Regions from separate parts of the Homo sapiens genome. Here all the other regions are linked to region 5. The links are contacts of gene promoters, found by promoter capture Hi-C in human tissues and cell types (Jung and others, 2019). All regions are on one chromosome and are shown on one strand. The core of a region is centred on a gene start or on the middle of the fragment in contact, and the rest is flanking DNA. Distances in the headings are between cores, read along the strand shown.

Evidence for each region. The method cuts DNA at HindIII sites, captures the fragments that hold promoters and counts their contacts. A contact is called where the count stands out against the background at its distance.
Region 1: a fragment that was not itself captured here is called in contact with the fragment with the promoter of RAX in region 5 in 3 of the 25 tissues and cell types used here (liver, mesendoderm cells and thymus).
Region 2: a contact is called between a fragment that was not itself captured here and the fragment with the promoter of RAX in region 5, in 4 of the 25 tissues and cell types used here (H1 embryonic stem cells, mesendoderm cells, neural progenitor cells and 1 more).
Region 3: a fragment that was not itself captured here is called in contact with the fragment with the promoter of RAX in region 5 in 2 of the 25 tissues and cell types used here (mesendoderm cells and thymus).
Region 4: a fragment that was not itself captured here is called in contact with the fragment with the promoter of RAX in region 5 in 3 of the 25 tissues and cell types used here (IMR-90 fibroblasts, aorta and spleen).
Region 6: a fragment that was not itself captured here is called in contact with the fragment with the promoter of RAX in region 5 in 5 of the 25 tissues and cell types used here (heart left ventricle, liver, lymphoblastoid cells and 2 more).
Region 7: a contact is called between a fragment that was not itself captured here and the fragment with the promoter of RAX in region 5, in 2 of the 25 tissues and cell types used here (mesendoderm cells and thymus).

Annotation. Positions count from the first base shown.
Region 1 is chr18:59,349,503-59,352,936 of GRCh38, reverse strand. All of the region lies in intron 5 of LMAN1 (lectin, mannose binding 1), which reads left to right. Among named protein-coding and RNA genes, the nearest start is that of LMAN1, 8.0 kb to the left of the region's middle. The HindIII fragment of the contact is 6,352 bases long and covers 1-3,434 here.
Region 2 is chr18:59,374,553-59,378,092 of GRCh38, reverse strand. No RefSeq gene overlaps it. Among named protein-coding and RNA genes, the nearest start is that of LMAN1, 17 kb to the right of the region's middle. The HindIII fragment of the contact is 3,110 bases long and covers 134-3,243 here.
Region 3 is chr18:59,201,030-59,204,523 of GRCh38, reverse strand. No RefSeq gene overlaps it. Among named protein-coding and RNA genes, the nearest start is that of GRP, 17 kb to the left of the region's middle. The HindIII fragment of the contact is 3,947 bases long and covers 252-3,494 here.
Region 4 is chr18:59,143,634-59,147,487 of GRCh38, reverse strand. All of the region lies in intron 1 of SEC11C (SEC11 homolog C, signal peptidase complex subunit), which reads right to left. Among named protein-coding and RNA genes, the nearest start is that of SEC11C, 5.7 kb to the right of the region's middle. RefSeq lists an enhancer at 2,896-2,945. The HindIII fragment of the contact is 4,425 bases long and covers 1-3,854 here.
Region 5 is chr18:59,272,204-59,276,007 of GRCh38, reverse strand. RAX (retina and anterior neural fold homeobox) reads left to right here and starts at 2,554. Exons shown (of 3, transcript NM_013435.3): 1 at 2,554-3,090; 2 at 3,394-3,647. The coding sequence starts at 2,802. The HindIII fragment of the contact is 4,384 bases long and covers 1-2,818 here.
Region 6 is chr18:59,159,186-59,162,803 of GRCh38, reverse strand. No RefSeq gene overlaps it. Among named protein-coding and RNA genes, the nearest start is that of SEC11C, 21 kb to the right of the region's middle. The HindIII fragment of the contact is 5,175 bases long and covers 1-3,618 here.
Region 7 is chr18:59,181,290-59,184,738 of GRCh38, reverse strand. No RefSeq gene overlaps it. Among named protein-coding and RNA genes, the nearest start is that of GRP, 37 kb to the left of the region's middle. The HindIII fragment of the contact is 3,497 bases long and covers 48-3,449 here.

The DNA.
Region 1 (3,434 bases), core at 379-2,878, 78 kb before region 5:
AGATAGATAGATAGGTAGATAGATAGATAGACGGATAATCTCCAAGCCTTCAGGATACAAATATGAGTAAGACAGATGGACTTTCTCCCCAGAGAGCTTATAGCCTAACAGAGGACACACAAATGTATCATTCCTATGCTGTGTGATAAATGCTGCGTTGCAGACACTATCAAGCGGTCCTGTGGTTAGAATCCTGTAACTGCCAGGTGGAGGTGGGGAAGGGCAGGAACATTTTCTCAGAGTTGAGCTGTGCCCTACAGGGAGATCAGGAAGTTCCTGGGAGTTGGGGGAAGAGGGTGTGTGTGTGTGCGAGTGAGTGGGTGTACTCCAAGCACAGAAAGCAGGCATAGGCCCTTGAGAGAGCTTGAAATATTTTGGAAAGGCATGTAGTTTGGTGTGGCTGGGAGATAGAAGAGATCAGTGAGCAGTGAGGTTGAAAGGGCAGTAACAGGCCTTGCACAGCTTCCTGTAGTTTAACCCATAAGAAGCTTTTAAAAATGTTTAAAGGGTTTTAAGCAGGAAGTGAAATTATCAGATTTGCAATTTAGAAAGATGACTTAGGTCCCAGTATTCTTAGTACCAGTTTTCTTGGGGTTAGGGGTGAACACAGTTGTTGAGTCAAGGAGAGTTCCTGAATATAGCCAATTGGACAGCTAATTGGTACTATTTACTAGCAAAGAAGCAGCACATTTGTTTGTGTTTTATCTGTTTGGGGGAGGAATGGGAAATCAGAGGGTTGGTAATGAGTTTAGTTGTAGGTAAATTGAGGTTAGCATAACATATAGGTGGAGATATCTAACTGGCAGTTATGATAACTAAGATCACTATGCATTGTAAACTTTGCTTTTTAAAGATGCCATTAATACCTGGTTATATAATACTTAAAAGTAAAAAAAATAGTGTATGAATTTTTCTTTCACCTAAATCATGAGCTAGACTTACACTCCTGGGTCTAAATCTCTGAGAAAGTTAGTTCTGTGGAAAACTGTATTGGCTTAGTCTTAATTCCAAGCTAATTTAGAGATCTTAGAATAGAGCAAGTGTCCAATGTATTATAATTAGCTTGGGTTTGAATTCCACTATAATTATTCACCCTGTACAGTTTCATTAGAGTCATCAGTAAGTCTTGCTTACCTGCATGTAGCAAAGCCCAGACATCAAGCATGGTGGGTGCAGACTGTCCGTGTGACCCAACACCGTGAGGCTGTGAGCCCTGGCAGCACTCCAAAACAATAGCCTTGCAAAACGTACTCCCCAGAAAGGGTTCCACAATTGATGAGATTGGTCACTACTCTGCATATTAGCACATTAAAGATTTCTTTATGAAGGATCCTTTATAAAGAAAGGATAAATAAACCTTTATTAGACCTCACATTTCCCAGACTGACTTAACTATGGAATTTTTTTTCACCTAATGTCTATGAGTGATCATGGAGCTAGTGTTTTCAGGTACACGTTTTGAAGAGACTGGCTGGACACGTGACTGCTACTTATTGGTTTTCACCTCTCTGTACATCTCAGTCTGGTAATAATTCCTTTTCTTTCTACTTGTTAAAGTCATACTTAGCTTTGAGCACACAAATTCAGATCCCTTTTCTATCAGATTTCCTAAACAGCTCATAATGATCTGTCTCTCCTAAACTCTTAGAGTATTTTTTTTTCTCTAATGCTTATTTGGCCTTGAGATATGTTGTACTGATTTGCTTATTAACTATATGTATATCTCTTCTTATCAATATGATTGTAAACTTCTCACAATAGGCATATCCTGTATTTCTCCTAGTTCCTAATATTGTGCCAATGTGAAGTGCTCAAGAAGTATTTATTTTCATGAGTACTTGCACCCTAGCTTGTCCCAGTTGTTTCCACATTGGAGGGAAAAACAAAGTAAGAGGAGGTTGAAAGCAATAAGTGCTGTTGGTGGGGGAAACACAGCCAAAGCAAGAGATCTTAAATATTGCAAGTGTAGTCTTTAACAATGGTTTGAAACCATAAGGTGAATAAGGAAGGTTATTGATGATCTCATAAAGAAGTAATAATCAGTGGACAGTTTGTACCTAGGCTTTCAGTTACAGTCCTTCCTAACATTCCTGCTAACTCACAGTACAATGAAATGTGTTACGTCCTTTAAAAAAAAATTGGGGCCGGGCGCGGTGGCTCACACATGTAATCCTAGCACTTTAGGAGGCCGAGGCGGGCGGATCACGAGGTCAGGAGATCAAGACCATCCTGGCTCACACGGTGAAACCCCGCCTCTACTAAAAATACAAAAAAATTAGCCAGGCTTTGTGGCGGGAGCCTGTAGTCTCCGCTACTCGGGAGGCTGAGGCAGGAGAATGGCGTGAACCCTGGAGGCAGAGTTTGCAGTGAGCCGAGATCACACCACTGCACTCCAGCCTGGGCGACAGAGCGAGACCCTGTCTCAAAAAATAAATAAATAAATAAAAATAATTGGAACTAGACAATGAAGACTCATGCTGGATTTTCAGTTTGTTAGAATTCAAGGAAAAAAATACTGAACAATTGGAGGATTTTAGTATTGTAATTTGAATGTAATAATCTACAGTCTTTTTAAGACTCAAAGGCAAATAACTTCCTGATTGTTGATTCTAATTTAAAAGGCTCTGTGGAGGAGGACCAGTTGTAAATGATGTAAAATGAAATAGGAATATTACTAATCACAGGAAACATATTAATATGAACCAAATGCTAAATGATCTTTTAAAATTAATTATTTTAAACTAATTTTTAGTTCACATGTTTCCATTCTACAGTATATAGAGAGTAACTCTTCATATTGACAGATTTTATTCTCTTGCTGAAAATTTGGACAGAATACCAGAACATTTTGCCTGTGTGACTGAATCTTAAGTCTCTGACAAAATTTTGACTCTAGAAGTAATGACTCAAGTTCCCTTACTCTGGTGCCTTGGGCCTTCTCCTGCAACCACCCTGAACCTCAGTGACTGTTGTTTAGGGTGGGACTCGTGAGAGGATTATTAGAAATGAAATGTATTGAAGAGGCTGAACCACTGCTTGACTGGGATAATGAGAAAAGCATTCATGTGTCAGGTGGATTCCTGTGCTTGCCTAGGATTCTAAGATTCTGTTAAGAAATTTAGGATCATTCCTTCAAATATACATTTTGCAAAGTAGAAACGTACATCTTTTTAGTTTTTTCCTTCTCTGCCTTGTCAGTATGACTTCTGTCACTTTTGTTCTCTGCTAACCTGTGACAGTCCAGATACCTCACTAATTTAATTAAGAGGAGCTCACTACTTGTTGAGACAATCTGTTTAATTCTCAACCAGCTGCAGATAAAATTGTAAATTTAACCTCTTGGTTTTAGCTGTCACTGGGATCTGAGAACAAGTCTGATCCCTCTGCTGCATGAACCATTCCAAGGGAGTAATGATGACTCCCTAGGTCTTCTT
Region 2 (3,540 bases), core at 439-2,938, 100 kb before region 5:
GGCATGCACCTCATCAGATGCTGAAAACACACCACACTGGTCTTATTTTCCTGGGTAAGAAATCATAGTCAGTCTTTGCCAAAATGTCTTTGCTTTTTATCCTTTTCTGCCTTAACCCAGAAGTTCAATCCTCTCTGCTTTCACTTGTTTCTTGAGTTGGTGATTATGGGCAGCCATACATTGGCCTTGGCGATAAATCATTCCGGCTCCTCTTTCTTGTTGCTCGATATCCAGGAATGTACTGTACCAGATGAATGTCCAGCTGCTTAGACGTCACTCTTATTTATTGCACTTTCATGCTGGCTTCTCTGCATCCTTCAGTAGTCTATGAGCTCCTTCTGGCAGACACTGTATTTTATTGATCTTTATTTCTCCAGCAGCTAGCATAGTGCTCACCTCACAATAGATTCTTAGTAAATATTTAGAGACTGCTGAATGAATATCCCATGATCCCTTACCTTACAAGCCGAGAGACACAATACCCAGGTACACAAGACTCTTAATGAACATGGAAAGAGAACATACAGGTAAGTGTGCAGTGTGGTTCAGTAAGTGTTCAAAGACAGGAAATAAATAAGAGCTCGTAGAGTTTTAGAAGGCTTTGTAGAGAATGTAAGACCTAAATTTGACCATTAGAAAAAAGAGAGCAGCATTGAGGAAGTGACGAGGGCGCTTAAATTTTCCACTCTGTCCCTCTCAAGTTTTCTCATGGGAATGCCTTTGTTTTTCTTTTCCTCTTATCATAGCATCTCCGTCACTGGGTCACCTGCAGTCTTCTCTTCCACCTTTACCAACCTGGTCTAAAAATCCTCTTATAGTGCTTCTCTGTGCAACCCTATCTTATTTTTTAGCCCAGCATGGAGTATCAAGGGCTCTGATGGACAATACAAGTTTTGTCTCCTCTTCCGAAACTCCCTTGGGCCACTCTCACAGCCTAGTGTACTAACTGAGGCTGCCCCTCAGGAAAAACCAGGTTGTGGGGTAATTAGGTCATAGGAAACACTGAAACCAGAAGATTCAGCTGGAGACTAGGCTAAAATTCATAAATACAGATTGGCCTGGCTTGAACTCACAATAGGCTAATTTTAGATCTGTGGATTTGGTCTAGCAGAACAGTGACAATTATATCCTTTCTCTAAACGTTTTGCCTCCACTGGCTTTGGAAGCATTTCTTTTCTATCACTGAGTCATTCAATAGCCATATAATTGTTATGTCCATTTCCCTGGCTCTAACAGGTTTGGGAGCCAGTTACCTTTCCCAGTTCATTAACCGACTGGCCTTCGCATTAACAGCCCCTCCATCGGGGGTTGCCTTGGAGACAAAGCTTCCTGTGGGTAATCCAAGATTATCTAGCTCTTTGTCCTACATGTGACCCTTAATTACTTGCTAAATTAGAATGGTTTTCTGAAAATCACAAGCGGAGGTTAATATGTTCTTCCAGAGCTGGTCAAGCTAAGATGACACTGAATTCACAGGGAATTCAAGTTACATGATCCCTGAAGGCGTCTCTTTGAGTAAGAAGATGAACTCTCCCCCTGGGAGGCACTGCCCCCCCATAAAGCCCCTGTCACTCACTGTCCCTCCGCCTGCTTTTCTAGTTGTGGTTTAATCTTCTCAGGACGATTCACTATGTCAATATTGAGCAGATTCATTCTGGTGCAGGATCCTGTATCCATTTGTCTTTGATAACTAGTTGCTTTAAATTTGAGTACATATTTATATCATAATTGCAGGTTTTTACTCTTTATTTACACAATTACAAGGCTTCATGTACCCATGTGGGACAGGCAAGGGAACTGAAGAAGCTATTAAAATACAGAAAGTAAACACTTTGGGTAAAAGAGTTTGAGCACTAGAGTGTCCTTCCTAACATTTGATAGGCCTCAAAGGGAGATTAGTAGAAAGGGGAACTCTTAGAATGCCCTTAATGAGCTGCCTCTTCAAATGCTTTTTGGAAGTAAGTTCTATATAAGTAATGCAGATATTGAATGAGAATTTCATTAGCAATCATAAATGTAGCTTTACTTAAGATGTTTAGTTATCTAGACTATAATGAAGCTACTGAGTAGAGTTCCAGAAGTTAAAAAAGAAAAAAACAGCAACAACAAAAAAAAACACTGTCTTAAAATTTAAAATATTATGGACAGATCTCAACATTAAAGTATCAAACTAATAATGGTATGTAGCCTGGAATCTCACAGGGATCCTTCCAAAAAGTGTTTAGGAAACCAAACTGAATGGGCTCGTGTTAGAAATAAACATAATCGGTGATTTAACACCTCAAATCATTCACTCAGATTTCCGAAGGAGTCGTTGGCAGATTGCTACAAACCTATTCAATCCAGAGGCTTGACTGAGTACGTATAAAGCTTTGAGTGTTTGTGGTTATATTCAACTGTGTGCCACCTTTAGAAATATTTAAGCATCTATGGTGTATAAGGTGTCATATAGCCCCCATTTTGTTGACCTGTAGTCATCTAAGTAGAAATTAGCAGAGAAGTCCTATGAAAATCACTTTATGACATTTGGTCACATCTATCATTACATATGTGTAGCACCAGAAAATTGACTCTGCCTGTAACATACTTAAATTAGCATCAGAGTACATTTCTTTTAGAGGAAATTTTGGTAAATCCTAGAGTGGTTACCGAGGAAAACTGAGATTGTCTTTGATATTGTTTTAAAGTAGTTTCATTCAGCATTTTCTGAAGTATGATTCTGAAGATAAAAGTCCTGCAGCATGTTAATAAGTGTTACACAAAAAGGATTCTGTGATTAAATAAACTAGGGGAAATGTTGTATTAAAACGAAGTTACTTTTTTAAAAATTTAATTAATTGTTACCACTGAAGAATTTCCAGGAGCTTTTAACACTTAAACGTGCACTATGAAAATTCAAGTCTCCTAAATGTATTTACTTACATAATTTCCGTTCTCATAGTACCCCATAGCATCTCCTGGAAGCAGCGAGTTCTAAGCAGCACACTCTGGGAAACACCTTTATATATATTTCTTAGCCTGCTTTGGCTAATAGGTGCAGATATAACCAATAAAAAAATTGATGATTCAACATCCCAATATCACACCCTCAAAACCTAACTTCAAAAAGATTGTTGAACTCCTTGTTCAATTCTTTTTTTTTTTTTTTTGAGACGAATCTCAGTCTGTCACCCAGGCTGGAGTGCAGTGGCGCGATCCAGGCTCACTGCAACCTCCGCCTCCCGGGTTCAAGCAATTCTCTGCCTCAGCCTCCCAAGTGACTGGGATTACAGGCACCTGCCACCATGCCCGACTAATTTTTTTGTATTTTTAGTAGAGATGGGGTTTCACCATCTTGACCAAGCTGGTCTTGAACTCCTGACCTTGTGATCCACCCACCTTGGCCTCCCAAAGTACTGGGATTACAGGCGTGAGCCACTGCGACTGGCCTGTTCAATTCTTTTGATAGTTTATGTCTTTCTGTTAATTCAGTGATTTCTACTAACTCCCACCTATAGGAGATTGTATAATTACTCCAAATATTTGCTGCCCCTCCCTGTG
Region 3 (3,494 bases), core at 976-3,475, 71 kb after region 5:
AGAAACACAATTGACAAAGAAGTTTGGTTATCTCTGTAGTTTACAATAACTTAACATAACAACCCTAATTATGATTGGTAGCATATACTTAGATATTATAATTTTAGAAATCCCATACAATTTTGGAATGCATATTAGCATAGTTTACCAAGATATAACCTAAAGAAGACTGCACATCATTTTGGCAATCCCACATCATTTTGGCATAAACATGTCAAATAATCCTGTTTACCTCTCTTTTATGGATGTCTCAGGGGCCCTCTGATTCATCTGAAAAGCCAGGTGTCAGGAAAGACAATTTTGAAACTGAAGTTTGATTTTGGGAAGCCCGTTACATGTATTTGAAGCCCTTGATATTAGGAAATAGAATTCCAGATTACCATAAGTTATTTATTGTGCCAAAATGATGACTCAGAAATTTAAAGAAGCAAAAACCTTTTATAACCTTTTTGAATTTAGTCAATATGTTCACATAGAGAACCCCTTTGCAAGATTAATTTCCACAATCTTTCCACCACTTGTTTGAACCTTCAGCTTTTCCTAACTCAAAACAATCCTTTAACCATAGGCAAAAATGTACATTTCCATGGCTTTTTGTAACCTTTTACTAAAAAACACATTTTACTGTTCTTACACTCCTTGCATGTAAATTTATTTTCAGTAGTTTCAATTATACATTATAATGGTAACTCCTAGCAATTTTTAACTTTGGGGTAAAATCTGGTAAGTTGCTTTAATTGTGTGCTCAGTGCAGCCAAAGTTGCCTTCTTAATTAAGGGTGTGGTTAGTTCTACATGTCCCCAGGCCCTACCAATTGTGAAGCCGGCAAGTCAAATAGTTTCCCAAACTCAAAAATCAGTTTGTAACCTCAAAACATTTAGCAAACCTTGCACCTGACCTGCATTTTACCAATAGTCTTTAGAGCTGTTTTTATTTCTCAAAGATTAAAGTCATGTGAACTGAAAGGTACCACAGCTTTTAACTTCCCTTAAAAAAAAAAATGCTTGATTCAAGCACTCGTTTTTCTTTAGGCCAAATTAATAGAGCTCTTTTTACAGACATCACACACAATACACACACTGACAGGCAGAAGAAAACCCAGTCCCCACAAGATCCTTTTTCACAACCAAAACTTTACGGAGAATATAAACAGGGGCGCTTATCATTCCTAGCCTAGCAAAACTTCTTCTGAAAGAAAAAACCTCACTAAATGGTAACTGCTGATGGGGTGGAGAAGGTGAAGGAAAAAAAAAACAGTTTAAAAATGCCTGGGGAAGAACTTCTTATTCTTATGTAACTGGTTTCTCCACAAGGAGAAAAGTTTAATTACTGTCCAATGGAGTAAAATCCCTTGGCTGGGGAAGAGGAAGGCTGCATGGCACGTGGCTGGGAACCAGCCAGCTGGCTGTGTGGGACCCTTGGGCCATGGGTCCCAGCCCCAGCAAGGAGCGGGGAGCAGTGGCAAGCCGGCTGCTCACCAGGTCCATCCTGAAAAAGGAAGGTAAGGCCATGAAAAGGCTCCTAACCCCCGGGAGCGACAGGAGTTGGGAATGTGATTTCCCATAAGCTCAGAACTCCTAGGATGAAAAGGCTCCAAAGAGAGAGGGGAAAAGAATTCTTGGTTTGCATCTCACTCACCACTTCTCAAGCCCCACGTTGGGTGCCAAAAATGTTGCAGGACTTTTCCTTAGCTCAGCTAAAGATGGTGTTCTTGTCCCATGGCCACAAAAATGTAGGCTCACAGACAATTTGATGCATGAGTAAAGCAGGGTTTTATTTGGTGAAAAGGAAAGTAAGTGGGAACAGGGACTCTCTGCAAGGCCAGAGTTCTCTGCTGCTGCACTTCCCACCTTACAGATTGAATCCCAGGTTCTATGCAGGAAGAGGAGGGGCCAGGCTCTTACCCACTGCAAATGGCATGAGCTTCTGGAGGCTCCACCCCACTGTGCAAGCCAGCTGGAGTTTTGCCAGGGACCCCCTCCCACCTGGCCATCTCACTAGGAAGAAAAGAAGGCAAGGTTCTGTGATCTGTACTATGGTCACCCATTTCAGTGGCCTGAAACCCAGCTTGGGGAAAAATAAAGCTGAGTGTTTCACCACAGAGCTGTGTGTCATTCTTATTGTTTTAGTAATGCCATTACTAGTGCCATATACTAAGATGTAGTTACTTTCCATGGAAAGAAAACTTTCTAAGATAAACAACAAATTTCAGCTGTACTTCATTTGCACAGCTACAAGGCTTTTTATCCAGGTCACACTAAAGCTTCTGGAGAACGGGGACTCTGGAGTTTGACTCCTAGGTTTGCTACTTATGAGCTTATGTGTGACCTGGAGCAAGTTTCTTAATCTTTCTGAAGTATGAATTCCAAGAAAATAATGACACCTACCTTGGAAAGTTGTTCTAAGGATTCAATAAAATGCTGTATACTAAGAGCTTAGCATATTTCTCAGTACATTACAAAGTACTCAATAAATAAGATTTCCTATCATTCATATGAAGGAAAAGTCCCTCTTGCACGTTTCAGTTGTCTTTTGCATAATGAGCACCTCTGCCCTCTTCTTCTCCTGGTATTTACAGGGAGGCAGAGGTTTAGTAAATGTAAATACCACTTGGGTAGATGCCAAATCCTCCTCCATGGTCCTGGCCTTCCCAGGGACCAAGTCCTCCTTCATCAGTGGTGTCAAAGAGAAACAGCAGGACAGCTGTTAGAGGTGGCAAGATTGATTTTATTCAGTCTACTCCAGCAGGGGAGAGAGGGACTTTAGTATAGAACCAAACTCAACTCCACTGAAATAACAGATGGGAGACTATTTATTTAGTTTTTGGAGAGATGGGATCTCACTGTGTTGCCCAGGCTGGTCTTGAACTCCTGGCCTCAAGTGATCCTCCTGCCCTGGGATCCCAAAGTGATGGGATTACAGGCATCAGCCACTGTACCCAGCCTAGGCTTTTTAAACCGTAGGTTGGATTGTGCTAAAGGAAAAGTACTGAAGAATGTAAAAGTGGGGCGGCGGGGTGGTCAATGTGATTAGCCATCTGTGTTTGTTAATTAGTGCTTATCTGGAGGAGAAACAAATATCTCATATCTTTATGGCAGGAGGTAGTTTTGCAAATTGGAGCAAGGCACCCACTGAATTTGGTCTGTTACCCTCCCACAGAGACCGGGAGACAAGGGAGCTATGTCCCTAGATGTTTGCATTTCAAAGCCATGGTTCCCAGGTCCTCTGGGTGGAAGGAGATTCTGGGTGGAAGGAGATTTACATCTCAAAGTGGCAGAGAAAGGATTTATAATTGTAAGTTTTCTAAAGTAACTGCTCTAAGCAAAAGGAGGGCAGGGGCCTATAGTTGTTTTAGCTGGAACAAATTCTTTAGGCAGTATTTGAGACTTCTCAGGCAGGCACTTTAAGAGGGACTGGGCTCACAGTCTTGGGCTGATAGAAGCCATCCTAGAGTTTGGTCAGGTTTCTTAGTGTGGGGAGGTTGGATGGAGTCA
Region 4 (3,854 bases), core at 763-3,262, 130 kb after region 5:
GGCGTATCCTGGAGTAACTGATAACTTCTAAACTCTCCTTGCTATTAATATAGTTTTAGTGTTTTGGAGGCAGTGATGTTAGACAGGTTAGATCCCACCTTAGCTCCCTACCAGCTTTCCAGAACATACTTTTGAATTGAGTTTGGAGTGAGGACCTGGATCACGTGGCTCTGGGCAACATCATTTTCCTCAACTATCCAAATTTAATATTAACTGAGATGGAATGTGGTGGTATGAACTCTTTTTGAGCATTGAGTACAACTTAAAATACAGTTTTAAACACAGTTTAAATACAGTTTAAAATACACAAGGCCTGGAAAAGTCGGAGTGAAAGACACTCGGGAAGTCCAAATGGAGACTTTGCCAGGTGGTTCTACGTGGTTCTGACTTCTCAGTGTCCGGACAGTTCTTTACAGCAGCAGCGCAAGCATCAGCGTGCACTAGGATCAGCTGGCGATGCCTGAGGACTGCACTTCAGACACATTCCCAGGTGACACGAAAGCTGCTGGAGTGGGAATCACAGCTGAGAACCACTGCTCTATACCATTGGTTCTCAACCTTGGCTGCACCTCAGAATCATCGGGGAAGCCCTGGAAAGTCCATCCCAGACCAGCTGGATCACTGGGAGGGGTGGGGTGATTCTGAGGTGCAGTGAAAGTTGAATCACGGCTCTATACCTCCTCCTCCCATCAGCTAAAGACTCTCCCATCGCAAACCCTTCCTCCACCTCACATCCTCCTCCAGCTTTCACACTCTCTTCTCCTTCACAGCTCTTCTCAAAACAGTGTCTACCCCAAGTTGCTCCCCTTCTTCACCATCTATATTCAGTCCTCAACCTACATAGTCAGTCACATGCTCACTAAATCCAAAGGATAACTGTCGGCCCTCACCTTACCTGACCTTCCAGCAGCTCTCAACACACATGATCATTTCTTCGAACCCTCAGCCCCTGCCTTCCAGGATGGCATGCCATCCACTTCTCACCACTTTCTTGTCTTCCTGCCAGTTGCTCCTCCTCTACCTGAATCTCCTCCTCTACCTGAATGCTGGCATTGGTCCCATCAGGCTAACTACTCCCAATTCAGAGACTTCCAACTGCCTACCTGATGTTTCCACTTAGATGTCTTTAAAGATACCCCATCCTCAACATGTCAAAATTAAACTTACCTTCTCCAAAAGCTTTCAGTATTAGGGATCCTTCTCTCAGTAAATGACATTATTATCACCCTGCTGTTTGGAGCCACCCCCTACCCATTCATTCTATACATTCTGGCTTTCCAAACACGTCTGGAGTTTGTCCAGGTCTCTCTATTCCCACTGCTGCCACTCTCATCATATCACCAACGGGGCCCATCAGGCTGCTGTGAAGCCTCATGACAGGTCTCCTAATGCCCATGCACACCTCTTCTGATCCATTCTCTGTGATACACTCTGGGCGGTCATGCGCCACTTCATGACAGACACATTCTGAAAAATGCGTTGTTAGGTGATTTTATTGTTGTTTGAACATCATAGAGTGTACTTATACAAACCCAGATGGTGTCGCTTACTATACCCCTAAGCTATACGATGTAGCCTATTGCTCCTAGGCTAGAAACCTGTGCAGCATGCTACTGTACTGAATACTGCAGGCGACTGTAACACACTGGTAAGTATTTATGTAACTAAACATAGAAAAGGCACAGTAAAAATATGGTATAATTTTTTGGGACCACCATCATGTATGCAGTCCACCATTGATGGAAACATCATTATATGGTGCTTGACTGTACTGGTTTTCAAATGCACATCTGGTCACCTGGTTGTCTATGCCCTGCCTAAAGCCCTTTGATTGCATCCCACTACTCTGAGGATGAAGACTAAACTACAATATGGCCTCTAAGGCCCTGTCTGATATAACCCTGCAGCCCCGCTTCAGCCTGTGAAGCTCGCCTCACCCCAGCTGCACTGGTGGTATCTGTCCATGCTTCCACCTCACATGCTTCTTTCCACCCCAGGGCCTTTACCCAGAAGGCTCCCTCCCTGAACCCCTTAGTTTACCAAACACTCACCTTTACATCCACCTTTAAATGTCAGTGTCCAACAGAACCCTGCCCTGACTGGCTAGACCAGAAATCAGCAAATTTTTGTGTAAAGGGCTAGACAGTAAATATTTTATGTTTACGGGTCACATAGTCTCATTGAAACTACTCAGCCCTGCCAATGTAGCGGGAAAGCAGCCATAGACAATATGTAAAAGAAAGAGCATGGCCGTGTGCCAATAAAACTTTACAAAAACAGGTGGTGCAATGGGGTTTGCCAATCTCCACTCTGGCCAGCCTAGGTCTTCCTATTATATATTCTCACTGCATCCTGTATTTCTTTGTATCGTTCATCAGCATCATAATTAAGCATATAATTACCTAATGTGTCTTTTGCATTAGACCTTACATTCCACAAAAGTAGGGATCATTTCAGCCTTGCTCATAGCTGTATCCTCAAGATTCAACATGGGTTTGGCAAAAGTTAAGTATTCAATTTGTTGAATAAATAGTGATAAAATAAACATCTTTAATGGTGAGTGCAAACAAATCAGCAATAAGAAAAACACTAAAATTCCAACAGAAAAAGGTAAAAGCTTAAAACTATAATTTTCCAAAGGAAAATACAAGTAGTAAATAAACATAAAAAATGTTCAAACCAATAATCCTGCCTCTACCCTCCTTGCAACCCCTTCCTTTTTTTTTGTTTCTAGCAACTTTTTTTTTTTTTTTTTTTTTTTAAGATACAAGGTTTCAGTCTGTGGCCTAGGCTAGAGTGCAGTGGTGCAACCATAGCTCACCACAGCCTCAAACTCCTGGGCTCAATGGATCCTCCCACCTCAGCCTCCCAAGTGGCTGGACTACAGGCATGTGCTGGCATGCCTGGGTAGTTCTAAATTTTTTTCTTTGGTAGAAATGGGGTCTTTTTATGTTGCTCAGGCTGGTCTTGAACATACTAGCCTCAAGCAATCCTCCCAAAGTGCTGGGACTATAGGCGTAAGCCACCACACCTAGCCTTTGCCTAAGAAATTTAAAGTGTCTGGTTTTTTTATTGTTGTTGTTAATACTAATACTTAGTGCTAGCAAGAATACACTGTGATGGGGATACAAATTGATAAACCATTCTGAAAGCTATTTGGCATTAGTATTAAGAGGTTACTCTTGGCCCATAATCCTACTTCTAGGAATTCAGTATAAACTAAAGGCAGGTTGAGAATTATGGCCCGAAGACATTTATTACAGTCTTAATTCTAATAATGTGGAAAAGGAAATAAATGAGCAACAATATGGAAATAACTGAGTAGAAAGTGGGGCCAGGTGCAGTGTGGCTCATGCCTGTAATCCCAGCACTTTGAGAGGCCGAGGTGGGCGGATAACCTGAGCTCAGGAGTTCAAGACCAGCCTGGCCAACATGGTGAAACCCGATCTCTACTAAAGATGCAAAAATTAGCCAGGCATGGTGGTGCATGTGCCTGTAATCCCAGCTACTCGGGAGGCTGAGGCACAAGAATCGCTTGAACCCGGGAGGCGGAGGTTGCAATGAGCCGAGATTGCACCACTGCACTCCAGCCTGGGTGACAGAGCAAGACTCCATCTCAAAAAAAAAAAAAAGAAAATGGCAGATTACTCCACTATTTAAAACAATGCATAAAGAACTTAATGGGAGTGGAGGAGAAAGCGGGTTGGGTTGGGGGAGGAAAATAAAAAGGAACTTTAATGACATGACCAAACACAGTATGTTGAGTGAAAAATGTAAGCTGCAGTAGGATCTCACCAAACGATAAAACAAATACAAAGAGATGCCCCAAGACGCTAAGAGAGGCTATTTTAGGA
Region 5 (3,804 bases), core at 1,305-3,804:
AGCGTGTGGGCAGGAGCTTAAGGAAACGCTGCCAATCTTTGTTTAGCGGTGATTATCGAGATCAATTTAATATTGGGGAAGTTTGCATAAAAAGCATTCTCGGTCAGAGGGGGAACAACAAATACCAATTAATTATCCCCACAGCTGCCCTCTGATCACCACCACCTCAGCACGTCAGCCACCTGGTCTATGTCACTGGCAGTCAGACCTTTTCGGGTGCCACCAGGCCATTTGTGGGCCCTGGAAAGGTGGAGGAGGGGCGGAGGAGGAGGCAAAACCTGGTCTGTCAGGGGACTTTCCAGAGGGTTTGTTAATTTGCCCTGGATGCCGGTACCCAAAGCCCACTCTCTATAGGCTCTGACTTTATTTCTTCTGGGAGCTAAACTGCTTCTACCTCCGCCTCTTAGATGCAGAATCCAGTCTCAGGGAAGGATTAAAGACAGACTGCAGGCTAAGATGGGCTTTGATTCTTTTCAAAAAGATCACACACTACAATAATAATTACAAATGAGCTGCAGGCAGAAAACACTGGACAAGGAGTCAGTGGCCTGAGTTCTAGTCCTGACCCTTCCACTTAATAGCTGTATCACTTTGAGCCTCAGTTTCCTCTTCTGTAAAATGGGGACCAATATGTCTGTCCTGCTCACCTCACAAGGTTGTGAAGATCAGATGACATGAAGAATGTGAGAAGATTCTGAAACCTACAAAGTGACATGTCGAGAGAATTGCTTGAGCCCAGGAGTTCCAGGCTGCAGTGAGCCACCATCATGCCACTGCACTCCAGCCTGGGCAACAGAGAGGGACCCTGTCTCTAAAATAAACAGACAAATAAATAATAAGTAAATAAAGTAATATGTGAACACTGTAAAGTGCTATTAACTTTCATTAATTTTAGCTTTTTTCTTAAAAGATAATTTCTGACTTGAATTAGTTCAATTTCTATCTCCTGCAGTCACATGCTTGCCCTTATTTTAGTTTGCCATTATATAGTTTTATTAAAAGTAGATATGCCCATCATGGGGAATTAACCATTGAATGATCCTTAAGAAATTGACTTGTCCTCCGCAAACATCCTTCTAACACCAATTTAAAGGTTGGGGATCTGAGGATGTGTGTTTTCCCTCTTCCTTTGTCTTGTCTTCCAGACTGGACGTTAAACTCCACCAGGCCAACGGCCCTGGCCTTTCCCAATTTGTTTGATGCCCACGACGTGGCCCTCGACGGTTGCCTTGCCCTCTAAAGGGACGCAGCAAACGCTTGTCTGAACGCAAGCGGGATAAAGAAGACACCCCTGCTGTGGAGATCAGAGCGCCTACTGAAAAGGAGATTTTAGGGATATTGTCCTCTAGGTCCTTGAGCTTTTATAGGAAAGCATTTTAATTCACGGTTCAGGCCACCAGTTCAGGGAAGGCCAAGCGCTCGCCTCGGGTCTCGCCTCAGATTTGAGGGGTGAGACGTTCACAGCGCCATTGTCCATCCGCGCTGCTGGAGGTGAAACACACTCACCCTATCCAATCATCTTTCCAAGTGGCCGATCAGTCACTGTGGGCCACGGAAGCCTCGAGGGGGTCCAAAGGAGAAAGAACTGCAAGCCAATTACTCCTGAACCCTCGGGGAGGCGAGAGGCCTCTTCCCCGGGAGAAGGTCCTTCCCCAGCCAGCTCTGGGCCATCTCCTTGGCCCGGAGTGTTGGAGGGAGGCGGGAGTGCGACACCGCTGCTCATCAGTAAAGGAGCCCGCCCTCCCCGCAGGACAAGGGGCGGGAGCGAGGAACTCCAGGTGGGTCTCCTGCGGGACCTGAGCCCGGCAGCACATCCGACTCGGGGCTCCCAGTCTCCTGCTGGGCGATCGGGCGCTAGAGGTCACCGGACTTGCGGACATAAATGGCCCTGGGGTGGGCGCTGCGGGGAAGGAGGGAGGCTGCCGGCGCTCAAGTCCGAGGGGACTGGGAGGAGTTACAACAGATATAGACGGACAAACTAAACGCGAGGTCCGGGACTTCGTACAACCCAGCCAAGAAAGGAGTGGGTCCCGAAAAGGGAGCCAGCGAGGGGAAATTCAAACTGCGACGAGTGCGGGGCTGGGAAGCCTTCGGCTGGGTCTCGGCGCTTCCAGGGGGCACAGGCCAGGGTGGCGGCCCCGCGGAGGTGAGCCAGAGGGGGCTAGAGGGGCGAGTCTGAAGCTGGGGAGGGGTGCGTCCAAGGAGGGAGGTGACCCCCAGGGGGTAGTCTGAAGTGAGAGGGTAAGCCCGAAGTAGAGGGAGACAAACGCAAGGGGAGAGATGAGCCCAAGGGCGTCGGCCCCACTGAGGCAGGACTAGGGGTGCGCCGCGACCAGGTTCCCGAGCCCATCAGGCATCCCGCCGCGGATCCCCGGAGTGTGTTTGTAAAGCTTAAAACGGATCAAGAGGTGGAAGGGGAATATTCCTAGTGCCGGCCCAGGGGTGGCCACTAGAGGACCCTGTGGCTGGGCCGGGTGAGGACACGCCCCTCTGTGGAGGGAGGGGCCGAGAGAAGGGGCTGGGTCCAGGGCGAGAGGGGAGGAGCCGAGGGCCAGTTGGCTCCCCGCCTTTAGCGCCGAGAGCCCCAGCTACCCCGAGCCCGAACTTCCGACTTCTGGGACTAAGGCGGCAGCGGGCTGAGCGCTCGGCCACCCCCAGCGTGCGCAGCCCGGGCGGGCTTCGCCCGCGGAGCTTGACCTAGGGTCGGGACCCGTCGGGTTGCACCGCCGCACTCGGGAAGACCCGGCTTCGAGCCTCTCCTCTCCGTCTCCAAAGCGCCCTCCCGCCTCCCGGCGCTCCCCATGCACCTGCCGGGCTGCGCGCCAGCCATGGCCGACGGGAGCTTCTCGCTTGCCGGCCACCTGCTCCGCAGCCCGGGCGGGAGCACCTCGCGACTTCACAGCATCGAGGCCATCCTGGGGTTTACCAAGGACGACGGGATCCTCGGCACCTTCCCGGCGGAGCGGGGCGCCCGGGGCGCGAAGGAGCGGGATAGGAGGCTGGGCGCGCGGCCCGCCTGCCCCAAGGCGCCCGAGGAAGGCTCCGAGCCCTCCCCGCCGCCAGCCCCGGCGCCCGCCCCCGAGTACGAAGGTGAGTGCGCACCCCTGGCTGTGCGAGGCCGTTCGGGCGCCCGAGCTTAGGAGTTGGCCAGACGAGAGCGCCCCTTCCTTAACTTTTATTAAGGCAACTGGGCGCGGGGTTGGGGACCGTCTATGGCGGGAGCTTCCAATTTGCATTCAGAGAAAGCTTAGGACCCATCGCCGCCCTCACCACGGACCTCCCCGGGCCATCTCGGAGCCCGCAGGCGGGCTGGCCAGTGCCCACAGCGAGGCGGGGTCGGCCCAAGGGTGTTTTGGGGAGTGCATCTGACCCTCCCGGGCCTCGTCGCCCCAGCCCCTCGACCCTACTGCCCCAAGGAGCCCGGGGAGGCACGGCCGAGCCCAGGGCTGCCCGTCGGGCCAGCCACCGGCGAAGCGAAACTGTCAGAGGAGGAACAGCCCAAGAAAAAGCATCGGCGGAACCGCACGACTTTCACCACGTACCAGCTGCATGAGCTGGAGCGCGCGTTCGAGAAGTCCCACTACCCGGACGTGTACAGCCGCGAGGAGCTGGCCGGCAAGGTCAACCTACCAGAGGTCCGGGTCCAGGTAAAGCGCCCAGGTTGAGGAACTGGGATCTGGGAGGGCCCGAGGCCCAAATTGCAGCCAATGCTTCTCGGAATTCACGGGTGTCCATGCATTTATTACTGTCCTTCCTCGACTTGGCATGCCCAGAGTCTCAAGGGAGAGGCACAGATCTTCGATG
Region 6 (3,618 bases), core at 44-2,543, 110 kb after region 5:
ACAGAAGAAGGCCTGGCCACAGCACGTGTGTAGGTAGCGTTCGCTCCCCGCCGGCACAGAACTGGCGCAGAAACAAGACTCAGTGTAAAAGAGGTTTCTGTCCCCCTGCACCATCCTGAAGCTTCATGCAGCTAAAAGCAAGGTCCCTGGGGAAAAAATGTCCCTGCCATAGGATATGTCTGCAACAATCTAGGCGGGCAGATTTAAAATTCAGAGAAAATCTGAGTAGAATTTTATGACCACAGACAACAGAGAAGAGTGTTCAAGAGGATTGGGAGGCTTTAATTAATTCTAAGTGCTCAAACTCAAGTGACCTTGAAGAAGAAATAGTAAAGCTCTGTTTGATTAAATCCAGGCATCCAATAAACTCTTGACCTGCCCTGATGCTAATTCTGGAGATAGGGAAACTGAGTCTGAATTTGTTAAAGATTCCCTGTTTGGTAAGTTGAGGCAGGGCTTAAATCATTGTGTGACTCCCAACTCCTCCTTCTATCCTACCCCACCCCATACTCCTCATTTGAAATGAAGAGAACCTGGCCGGGTGCAGTGGCTCACGCCTGTAATCCCAGCACTTTGGGAGGTCAAGGTGGGCGGATCACGAGATCGGGGGATTGAGACCATCCTGGCTAACACGGTGAAAACTCATCTCTACTAAAAATATAAAAAATTAGCTGGGCATGGTGGCAAGTGCCTGTAGTCCCAGCTACTCGGGAGGCTGAGGCAGGAGAATGGGCATGAACCCGGGCGGTGGAGCTTGCAGTGAGCCAAGATCGCGCCACTGCACTCCAGCCTGGGCAACAAAGCGAGACTCTGACTCAAAAAAAAAAGAAAAGAAATGAAGAGAACCTGATGAACACAAGTGGTAAAGGATGGATCTCAGCCCAGAATCTCAGGATGAGACTAAGTTGATCGCCCAGTGCCCTGGGCCAAAGGCTACTTTGTAAGATGAAGGCTCACCTAGAACTCAAGTGACCATTCAGAGGTTAGCATCATCTTAGTGGGGGAAATGGTGGTGAGAGGATGACACATAGATGCAGTGTGTTTCTGTTTTTTCCTTATGCAATCTGAAAATAACTTCATGAAGCCGAGAAGGAAGATGTGAACAGTCAAGCATCCTAATCACATTTATTCTCAACTAATGTGTGCAGACGTCTGTTTCTCGGTGGTTCTCAATACTGACCACACATTAGTAACCTAGGGAGGTTTTTTTAAAGAACAGATGCCCAAGTTTGCTTCCTCTAAATTAGAGATTCTCTTACCTTGCTAACTTAGAAAGGTTAGGCTTCTTCCTCTTGCCAACAATGCTTCATTTGCCCAGACTTGCAGGGACAGTGGCAGGTCCAAAATCTCAATAGACAGGCGGATTAGTGTCCACAGTCTGGTTGTTGGAGTGTTTGTGCATGTCTGCAGGAGCTCTATTTTTCTAGCATTTGCATAATGTTAACATATTAATTGTCAAGGGGTAAAGGGGTAGAAGAGCAGGACTCAGGCCTGTGGCTTAGGAAATCAACCAGAGGTTCCACCACTCACCTCTTGAAAAAACTGAAGCTCACCCTACCCCGTAGTAGAAACTTGCCAGTCTGGATGAAAACCTAAATTGATCTCAAATGCAGTATGGCAAACGCCATTTAACTTCTTCCTAAGTGTCTTCTTATAACACAGTGTCGCCTTTGTGGATACACCAGGCAGCATCCTGAAATCCTTGCATCTGTTTTTTATAGTTTGTATTCTTCCTCCTCAGTGGGTATTACCTGTCTGGCCATTGTCTACCAGAAACCCTCTACTCTGATGCTTCTAAGCTGTTGCAAAGTGGAAAAGCAGTTGTGTAACCACATGAGAAATGTGTCACATGAACACTGAGAAGCTCCCAATAAGAGGTTCTACCTGATGAATAAACTGCAAGCAGCTTGGATGTTCTAGTGCTGATTTTGTCTGCTCAGACACATCCTTGGTTCGTGTTGATACATTCCAGACACTGAGGCTACAACTGAGAGCCCCAGATAAAAGAACTTCAATCCAACATTAATTGCCATCGCTCCCATTTTATAAGGACCAACAGCATCAGGGAGGTCAAAAGACATCTTTGTCACTAAAATCCACAATTCAATGGCACTGGCTGAGCCCCGTCAGGGTTCTTAGGTGTCTTTGCAAAGCTCATTTCAGAATGTTAGGCATGTTCAAAGAATTACCAAAAAGCTTAGCCATGATAAGAGTTTTTTAAAAATTTAACTACAGAAGCCCAAGAAGATGATAAAATAATATGATTTTGACCCAACATTTTAAAATACCAGTTTTAGGTAAGGGGAAAAAAATCCATTTTTTCTTAAGAAAACAATGTATTAAAGGGCACAAGAGAATAATGTTTTTAGAAAGTATTCTGTAAATCTTTTTTTCTTTCACTTTGCTGATTTCAACAGGATGAGGTCCATTATTGTTGCAATAGCCTATTTTAGTAGAGAGAAAGGATTAAAGGGCAAGCTGTTCCCAGCGGATCACGCCTGCTGGTCCTTACCAAGCCAGGCGCTCACTCAGGAAAATTAACCATACAGGCGTGACACAGGTTTACACTGAAAGGGAAAACATGAGCAACAATAGGGAACGTCTACCGAGCGGATACTGTGGACATGTCAAGGACCATGCGGCTTATTGCTCATGACAGCCCCATTTGGTAAGTGCAGTTCTTATCCTCCATCTGAGGCTGAGGGAAGTTAAGTAACTCACTGGAGGCCACATCGGTGGTTAAGTGACTTTTAGGGCCACTAAATTCTTAGATCAGAATTGAACAAACGTAAAAGAATGAGGTAGATTTGTAAGTCCTGATTGAAAGGATGTCAACATCATTGTATTTGGTGAAAAGAGAACATTTTTGTAAAACTGAAGAGTGCATTTTAAAACATCACTGGCCTCCTTTTGACTCCTCTAACATTTCACTGTGCAAAGTGGGCACCAGCAGCATGAGCATCCTCTGGGAGCATGTTAGAAGTGCGTAGTCAGGCTCACCCCAAACCTCCTGAGTCCACATCAGCAGTGAAGAAGACAGGTGGCTGTGTACTCCTTAAAGTGTGAGAACCCTCTAGCCCGCCAACAGCGCTCCCTTTTCGGGGCCTCTGCACTTGGCTATAATGCGCTTCCCGGGATTTACGTGCTCCACTCCCTCTCATTTCTTTGAACTCTGCTTAATGTCACCTCCTTGGAGGGGTCTCCTCTGACTTCCATCTGAAAAGCAGTGTCCTCTGTCACCCTCTATCTGCTTAACATGCTTTATCTTTCTTCACAGCAATGACCAGTACCTGAAATCACAGGCTCGTGTGTTATCTGTTCCTCCTATTCCAGTGTGAGCTCCGTCAGGGCTGGGACTTTGTACCTCCAGCACATCAGACAGTGGCTGGGTAAAAGTGCTTGATAAATACTTGAAAGAGGGTCTACTTTCTCTGCAGGACTATATATAGTGCAAATATCTAATTTAATGGTGGGTATCCCTGGGAAGTAGAAAGGGAAGACTGAAGAAAGAGACCTTTTGTAGTTTTTGCAATTTTCAACTTTTACCCTTCTGGAGTTTTTGCAACTTTTCAGAGGAGTATGCACCATTTTTAATAATTAAACACTTTTCAAATAATT
Region 7 (3,449 bases), core at 547-3,046, 91 kb after region 5:
GGGTTTCACCATGTTGGCCAGGCTGGTCTCGAACTCCCGACCTCGTAATCCACCCGCCTCGGCCTCCCAAAGTGCTGGGATTACAGGCGTGAGCCACAGTGTCTGGCCAAGAAGTCGTCTTTTAACCTAAATGCCACTTTGTAGGTAACAAGTCATTTCTCCCTGATGACTCCAAAGATTTTTCTATCATTGATGTTCTTCAGTTTCACAGATATGTCTAGGTAAAGATTTAATTTTATTTACTTTTCTCAGTACATACAGAATATCTTTATGGTGAGGGTTCATGACTTTATTCAGTTCTGGAGTATTCTGGAATAAGATCTTCAAATAATGCTTCTCTGGAATTTCCTCTTTTGTACTTTCTTGACTCTTTATTGGTGCATGTTGTAGTCTCTCACTCTAGCTTCTGTGTCTACCTGTTTCTTGTTTTTTCTTTCTGTGTCTCTTCGTTTCTCTGGCCTGCACTCAGGAGCATTACGTAGTGTTACCTTGAATGTATTAGTTATCTCTTCACCTGTATCTAGTCTAGTATATCCTATCCCTTGAGTCTTTAATTATCATCAGCATACTTTTATTTCCTAGATTTCAAATTCCTTGTTTTTCATACACTCCTGTTTTTCATCCATTTGTGCCTAATTAATGTTGATTTTTATAGTTGGTTTTCCTTCATTTGCCTTTAACAATCTTAAACATAATGACTTAAAATCCTTTAAACTTTTAATTAATATTTTAATTTCCAAGGGAGTCAGTTAATTAAATTGATCTTCCTGGTATTTATTTTCCTGTTCAAGTTCCGAATTTTGGGTTGTAGTTTCATCTTTTCTAGGAGGCTTCTCTGGTGGCTTTGCTGCTGTCCCCACCGACTCTCCACGTCCCCATAGTAAACAGTCCAGAACCAGCTTTTATAAAAGCCTTGAGATACTGCAAAGCCAGACACAGAATCAGGTAGCAGCGTAGCGAAGGTCCTGTGAGAAAGGATGTGTTAATGTCCTCCTACCTTCCTTTTTGGGCATGCAGCTATGAAAAAAAACAGAACCTTAATCAACTCTTGCTACAGCTTTTTCCAGCCTTTTTATTCACATGGGGGAAGCTTACTCCTGCTTTGCATTCAGTCCAAGACCCTGGTTCCATTTCCCTATCTCATAGCATTCTTCTTTTTATTTTTTATTTTTGTATTTTTTGAGACAGACTCTCACTCACTCTCTCGCCCAGGCTAAAGAGCAGTAGCACCATCTCGGCTCACTGCAACCTCCACCTCCCGGTTCAAGTGATTCTTCTGCCTCAGCCTCCTGAGTAGCTGGGATTACAGGTGCACACCACCATGCCTGGCTAATTTTTGTACTTTTAGTAAAGACAGCTTTTCGCCATGTTGGCCAGGCTGGTCTCAAACTCCTGACCTCAAGTGATCTGCCTTCCTCGGCCTCCCAAAGTGCTGGGGTTACAGGTGTGAGCCACTATACCCAGCCTCTCATAGCATTCTTAATCCCTGCAGTTCCCCAGGAACTGAACCCCAGACTAGCTCTGCCTGTTATAACCAAGAGCCCCGCAGGGCAGCATCTGCTAGTGTTTGGTGCAGAGGTGGCGCTTATGAGACAGAATGTCTTCAAAGCGTTATTCTTGCCACCAGCATCCAATCACCTCCCCATTTTGGTACTCTCCCCAGGCACTCAGGATGGTATTGCAGCAACTCCAAGTGCACTTATACCACATCTTCCCAACCCTCCATCAAAATATATATCCTATATATCACTATCCTGAGCCTTTAATCTCCTCTGTGCAAAATTTAACCTGACTTCTCTAATGCTACCCACATTACAGCTGGGACAAATTACCCTTAAGGGAAGGAGTAGTCCCAAGTGAGATTTTATGTTTGCAGCTGGTATTCCCAGCCAGAGGAAAGCATTCCTAAGGGCCAACTCCAATAATAACAAGACAGAGAATTGCTAACATCTTCAGTGTAATTATTCCAAGGTATCTGAGTTTCCGTTTTATTTTCTTGCAGAATTTAATTATATATTTGATTTCAGCTACTTAAATGTCATAGCTAAAGACACCAGGCTTTGTGTAAGACTGGGAAATTAAAGGATTACATTCATTAATTCATGTTATTTAATATTTACACGTTTTGGCAAGATATTCATTGGTCTAAAAAAGTTTGGGCCAGACATGGTGGCTCACCCCCGCAATCCCAATACTTTGGGAGGCCGAGGCAGGAGGATCACGTGAAACCAGGAGTTCAAGACAGCCTGGGCAACAAAGCCAGACCTTGTGTTTACAAAAAAAATTTTTTTAATTAGCCAGGCATGGTGGCACATGCCCGTAGTCACAGGTACTGAGTGGGGGGATCACTTGAGCCCACGAATTTGAGGCTGGCAATGAGCATTCCAGCCTGGACAACAGAGCGAGACCCCATCTCTTAAAAAAAAAAAAAAGAGTTGGTGTTTATTAAAGTCACTGCTACCCTTTCAGCAAGCAAAGATCGACTTAAATTCCCACACAGGGGAGGTTTTACTTTCGCATATTGCAGGAACCAGGTAGTGTTCTAGTGCATGCTGACCCATAATTAATTTGCAGGCTCACACAGGAAAACCACCAAAACGCCTTGGTACTGGACAGTAAAAATGAGGTGTTATGGATAGATTTGTTTTTTTTTTTGGAGATGGATTCTCACTCTGTCACCCAGGCTGGAGTGCAATGGTGCAATCTTGGCTCACTGCAACCTCCGCCTCCTGGGTTCAAGCAATTCTCCTGCCTCAGCCACCCAAGTAGCTGGGATTAAGGCACCCGCCATCACGCCCAGCTAATATTTTTGTATTTTTAGTAGAGATGGGATTTTAACATGTTGGCCAGGCTGGTTTCAAACTCCTGACCTCAAGTGATCTGCCCGCCTCGGCCTCCCAAAGCGCTAGGATTACAGGGGTGAGCCACTGTGCCAGACGGATTCATTTTATTTTTTCACTTTTTGAGACAGAGTTTCACTTTTGTTGCCCAGGCTGGAGTGCAATGGCGTGATCTCGGCTCACCACAACCTCTGCCTCCCAGGTTCAAGCGATTCTCCTGCCTCAGCCTCCTGAGTAGCTGGGATTACAGACATGCGCCACCACACCCAGCTAATTTTGTATTTTTAGTAGAGACAGGGATTCACCATGTTGGTCAGGCTGGTCTCAAACTCCTGACCTCAGGTGATCCACCCACCTCGGCCTCCCAAAGTGCTGGGATTACAGGCATGAGCCACCGTGCCTGGCCGGGATTCATTTTTTAACTTAAAGTAATATTTATTATTGTTGTACTCATGCGTAGTTTTTGGCTCCAACAAATTAACCTCCTGTGTGTATATCACCAATATCACCCAACAGTGGCCAGAGAAGAAGCCCTGAATCCATCACCGAGAACCCCAAGGCCTCAGGGTGAGTAGCAATAGAGAGTCACCTCTGCATTCTTTCAGGTCC